Regions from separate parts of the Homo sapiens genome. Here region 1 is linked to region 2. Evidence: promoter capture Hi-C in 16 types of primary human blood cells and fetal thymus (Javierre and others, 2016). All regions are on one chromosome and are shown on one strand. Each heading gives the region's core, a stretch centred on a gene start or on the middle of the fragment in contact. The rest is flanking DNA. Distances are from core to core; before and after follow the strand shown. Region 1 overlaps TOM1L2 (target of myb1 like 2 membrane trafficking protein). Region 2 holds the start of RAI1 (retinoic acid induced 1).

What was found. The method cuts DNA at HindIII sites, captures the fragments that hold promoters and counts their contacts. A CHiCAGO score of 5 or more calls a contact.
Region 1: a contact is called between a fragment that was not itself captured here and the fragment with the promoter of RAI1 in region 2, in 2 of 17 cell types (total CD8 T cells and naive CD4 T cells). The highest score is 6.6, in total CD8 T cells.

Annotation. Positions count from the first base shown.
Region 1 is chr17:17,937,908-17,940,607 of GRCh38, forward strand. All of the region lies in intron 1 of TOM1L2 (target of myb1 like 2 membrane trafficking protein), which reads right to left. Among named protein-coding and RNA genes, the nearest start is that of TOM1L2, 33 kb to the right of the region's middle. RefSeq lists an enhancer at 1,023-1,112. The HindIII fragment of the contact is 2,943 bases long and covers 1-2,700 here.
Region 2 is chr17:17,680,081-17,682,780 of GRCh38, forward strand. RAI1 (retinoic acid induced 1) reads left to right here and starts at 1,378. Exons shown (of 6, transcript NM_030665.4): 1 at 1,378-1,713. RefSeq lists silencers at 1,099-1,608, 1,639-1,778, 1,839-1,918, 1,930-2,102, 2,089-2,700 and an enhancer at 1,419-2,020. The HindIII fragment of the contact is 10,976 bases long and covers 1-2,700 here.

The DNA of each region.
Region 1 (2,700 bases), core at 182-2,681, 260 kb after region 2:
ACCAGTCCACCTGCATCTGACACTGCCTAATAGAGAACCACACTCCATTCCTGCCACTCACAGAAAGGTCTCCACTGATGTCCACACAAAGGCTTGACTGGGATTTTGCCATACGGTGGCTCTGCTTTGGAGGGCTCTCTCCAGAACACAATGCCACCAAGAGCAGAGACCTCCCTCTGTGTTACTCCCTCTCACCCAGCGTGGTGCAATGGGAAGAGGAGAGGACCCAGGACTACAGGTAGAAATGAGAGGGAGGCAGTTAGATCCAATTAAGCAAGTCATTTTCATTTAACTGGAGAAGAGACCAACGTGGGATGTGCTGCCTATGAGATAATGAGTTTTCCATTACTGGAGGTATACAAGTCTGGGCGGGTAGCCACCTGGCAGGACGTTCTAGAAGGGGTGCCTGCTGTGCCTAAGACCTTGCCCTCAGCAACCCAGAGAGCTCCTTCTACCTCTTAGACCCTTGGTGCCTTTGATTTCACTGCAGTGGCCTGAAGCTGCCTTCTTCACTGGTAACATAAGGCTGACAACAGTCCCGCTCTGACTAGGATGTTCTATATAATAAATGACTACCAGGAGAGGCACTGGGGAGGAATACAGGAGCCACTCAATCCTCCACTAGAGAATGGAGTGACGACGTGCTCTGGAAAAAGCCAATGAGACTCAAGATAGGCATGAGGTTACAAATCTCTCCAGATTCCACTTCTACCCACATACTCATAAATGCACAGGGACGCAACCCAGCAGGCAGATAGTCACAAACCAATACTACCTAACCTTTACTGACTTATAATATCCTACATGCCTTAACTCATTACTTTATTTAATCCTCACCATGAGGCAAAGGTTGAAAGGGTTTTTTTTTTTTTTTAATATTTTGTAAAGAGGTCTTGCTAAAGTGACCGCCCCACCTTGGCCTCCTAAAGTACTGGGATTATAAGCATTAGCCACCACACCCGGTCTAGGTCGAAACTTATAATTCTCACTTTCTATACACTGGGGTGGGGCCGCCCAGAGAAGCTAAATGACTTGCCCAGACACACACACAGCAAGCAGTGGCACCTGGACTAGAATTCCATTCTGTCTGACCTCTGAACCCAAGTGTTTCACCAATAAGTTATAATGCAGCTACTCAGTAATGGGATGAAAAGGATAAAATGAAGAACCTTGATATACAGACAGCCTCTAAGTAATTTGTTTCTACCCATTACTGAAGTATCTTCCATCTGAATTAAACCTTTGCAAAGAGAGGCCAGCCCTCTCTAGTGTGACTTTCTCTCCCTAACAGTGCCTAACTTTTGGTGTTGAGACGAATACCAGGCAAAAAGTTGGCAGCTGGCTTTTAGAGTTGAAAAGAACCTTAACTTTCATCTGATGGGAGGCCTCCCAGATGGGCTGTGCCCAGCCACTGCCCACAGTCACCTCACTGTACTTGTGATAGACCTTAGCAGATTCTATTCAGTCTTAAAAAATATATGACATTATGAGACAACTAAAAATTTTGAACACTAGTTGGATACATGATAGGAAATTACATTTTAAAAGTACAATCACAGTATTGTGATTGTTTCTAAAATGAGTCATTTTCTTTTAGAGATACATATTGAAATATATGCTGAAATAATATGATTTGGGGGACTTACTTCAAAATAATATGGGCAGGGTATGCATATTGACAAAATCTAATAGGTCATGAGTTGATAATTGTTGAAGTTCTATAAAGGGTTTGTAGAAGTTCATTATACTATTCTACTTTTGCATGTTTAAAATTTTCTATAACACAAAGTTTAAAAAGTAAATTTGAAGATAAAATTGACACATTCAATATTCTTAGAGAAAAGTTAAACATAGGGCAGAGATTATAAATGTAATGAAAGTATAAGTAAGGGAAAGATTCAAACTCAATAAACACATTTGTTGAGTCCCCATTATGTAGGAGGCTCTGTAGTAGCCTCTACTTCCTCATCTATAAAATGGAAGTGTTAAGAATTCTGCTTTGGGCCAGGTGTGGTGGCTCATGCCTGTAAATCCTAGCACTCTGGGAGGCCAAGTCGGGAGGATCACTTGAGGTCAGGAGTTCAAGACCAGCCTGGCCAACATGGTGAAACCTCATCTCTACTAAAAATACAAAAACTAGCCAGGTGTGGTGGCGGGTGCCTGTAATCCCAGCTGCCTGAGAGGCTGAAGCATGAGAATCACTTGAACCCAGGAGGCGGAGGTCGCAGTGAGCTGAGATCACGCCTCTGCATTCCAGGCTGGGCGACAGAGCAAGACTCTATCTCAAAAAAAAAAAAAAAAAAAAAAAAAAGGAAGAAGAGTTCTGCTGCATAGGGTTGTTACTCAGATGAGATGAGCTTATACGGGTCAAGCACTGATAAGAGTGGCTGGCATATAGCAAGAGTAATCAATAATTGGTAGCTTTATACAACCCTATGCAATAAATACTATTAGAATCATTTTACAGATGAGGAAGATGAGGCTCAGAAAAGTATGATAACTTGTCCAAAAAGTCATGCTGCCAATATGAGGGAGAATTTGAATTTCAGAGTCAGCACTGCCCCCACCCAGCTCAGGGATGGACTCTGGCATGCCATAGCCAGGAGAGAGTCCTGTGGGTGCAGAGCATGGAGAAGTCAGGCTTTCAGGGAAGAAATGAGCTGTGACTCCTGAACAAAGAGCAGGAATAAGGTAAGCCTG
Region 2 (2,700 bases), core at 128-2,627:
ACAGAAGGGGCACAGCAGGCCTGGGACAGAGTGAGGGCCCCCCATCTATCACAATACCTTATTTTGCAGATGCAGGATTCACTTGTCCCAGGTCACCCACAAGCTCTGATGCCTTGACCAGCTCCCCTCTGCCCTACCAAAGGACAAATGAGGGAGGCTTCGATGGGGCTGTTAATGGGGTCATATCCCACAGACCCTAGAGCCTGGGTGGGGCTGAGAGGCTTCCCAAGCAGGTGGCAGTGAGCTCCCACCTGAGCTATGGCAAGTAGAGACCTAGGCATGAAATTGCTCCGAGGTCTGTACCTTAAGTTTCATGCAAGGACTCTCTCATTCAACATGCCTCTGTTTAAAGTCTGCCAGTGGCTACCTTCCTTGCACTAGAATTGCAAACAAATTCCTCACTGAGCTCTCTGCAGCCCTGCAGGCTCTGGCCCTCCCGATATGGCTCTGACTTCAATGTGCCCATTACTTGTCCCCTTGCTGACGGCCTCCTCACAATTCCACTTACTCACCAAGTTCTCTCCTGCCTCAGGACCTTTGCACTTGATGTTCTTTCTGCCAATGATGCTCTTCCCAGGAGGGCAGGCCCCTGTAGTCCCAGCTACTCAGAAGGCTGAGGTGGGAGGACTGTTTGAGGCCAGGAATTCAAGTTCGGCCTGGGCAACACAGCAAGACCCTGCCTCTAAAAGAACAAAATGCTCTTCCCAGACTCTACCCATGGCGGTTCCTCTTGCTATTTAGATCTTTGCACAGACAGGCCTCCTTCTCTCTCCCCCAGCCAAGGAGCCCTAGCCGTCACTTCACCTGCTAATTTTCGTCCTAGCACTTACTGCTCTAAAATTATCTTCGTCATGTATCTAAGCATTTGTTTGCTGTCTGTCTCTTCCCACCAGGATGCCAGCTCCACGACAGCAGGGACCGCATTGTCTCTGCTGATTCCTCAAGACTCAGCAAGGTGCCAGGTGCCCAGTAAATGAAGTTTACATGAAGCCAATGGAGTTTTGAAATCGAAAATGTTTCTCAAACTGCAAAGAAGTGGGCACAGGTGAGGGCTAATGGTGGGGTGAGGGTGGGGGCCTGGCCTGACGCTGGAAGCTCCTGTACGCAGGGCGCTAGTGTCCTCCCAGGCCGCACCGGGATCCCACCGCAGAGGCCCCCTCCCGCAGGCCGGCCAGCGGGCGGGGGGCGCGCAGTGGGGCGCGCGGACCGCCAGGGGGTGCTGTCGGGGCGCGCACGGCCCACCTGGCGCCCGGGGCCGCGAGCGAGCGCAGCCAGGCCGCCCGGGAACTTTTTTCCTCGCGCTCTTGCTCTCCTTCTCCCCCCGCGCGTCGCCCGCCCGCCCGTCCGCTCGTCCGCTCTTCCTGTGCGGAGGGGATCGCATTCCTCGCGGCACCCGCGGACACCAGGCAGGCCCGGCCGGGTGCGCGGCCAAGGCCCGCTCCCCGCGTCCCCGGGCGCCGCCCCCGCCCGCGGCTGGGCTCCGAGAGACGAGTGGGAGAGCGAGTGCAGCGAGGGCGAGAGGCGAGCCGAGCAGGCCGCCCTGCCCGCGGCCCTAGCGCCGGCGCGAGGAGGGGGCGCCGCGGCCCACCCTCCTTCCTGCCTGGCCGCGGGCCGGCCGGGCCGCCGCGCCCCGACCCCCATGGCCACCCAGGCCTCCGGGCCGCGAAGTCGCAGCGCCAGACCCAAGGCCCCCGAGTGAGCGCGGGCGCCGAGGTGAGCAGCGAGCGCCGGGGCGCGGGGGGCGCAGTGTATCCTGCCCCGGGGCGGGGGCGGCGCGAGGCGTCGGGATCCTAGGCCGGGTGATGAGCCGAGGCGGGTTCGGACGCCGAGCGCGCGCGCTGGGTGGAGATGTGGGGTCCGCGGGGTCCTTGCTTTGTGTGGTGTGGGGGGTGCGCGAGGTCACCGGATGGACGTCTGGGGAGCTGCAGGGTGGGGGCGCCCTGCGCCGCGGCTGAGGGTCTTCTGGGGGATGTGCGGCCAGCTGAGGTCGGGTGGGGGCATGGGGGCGCGAGGGGCGAGTGTGGCAAGGGATCTGCTTGCGCCGAGGCGCGGAGTCTTTGCGGAGCGTGGGGTGGGGACGTGGGGTGCATTCGCGGGGCGCCGGGGGCGGAGGTGAGCTTTGTGAGTGCGTCCGAGGTGGGGGACGGGGAGCTGACTTCCCCATGCGTGACCCGGGCCCGGCGTGGCCATCGCTTGGGAGTCAGGGCCGGCGAAGGCCGTGCGTGGCGAGATGGGTGCTCGGGCTCTCTGCGGTGTCCCTACCCGGGCAGCGGCCCCGGGGCCTGTGCGCAGGCCCCGAGGCCGGGCAGGAAGCGGCCCCCGCGACCTGGGGAGCTCTGTAGCGGCCAGGCCCGGGAGGCACGGGCCCTTCGGGGATGACGTCACGGGCGGGGGCCCCGGACACGCGAGCCTTGCGCCCCACAGACGGCGGCGCAGCCCGCCGCCCTTTTCGAGGCCGGCCCCCCCTCTCACGCGCCTTGAAGGCAGGGAACCCGGGAGGAGGACATGGGGGCCGAGTGCGGCGGGGACAAGGGGTGGCAGGACGCGAGGGTGACATTTGGAGCCTGGTCGCGCCAGGGGCCTCCGTGGTGGGGCGGAGGGGAAGCGAAACACCAGCCAGGCCCTAGGCCGTCGCGGCCCCAGCTTCCTGGGGCGCCCGTTTTCCCGGCTAGCAGTTTTCTTTCTTGGGGCTCTTGGTCG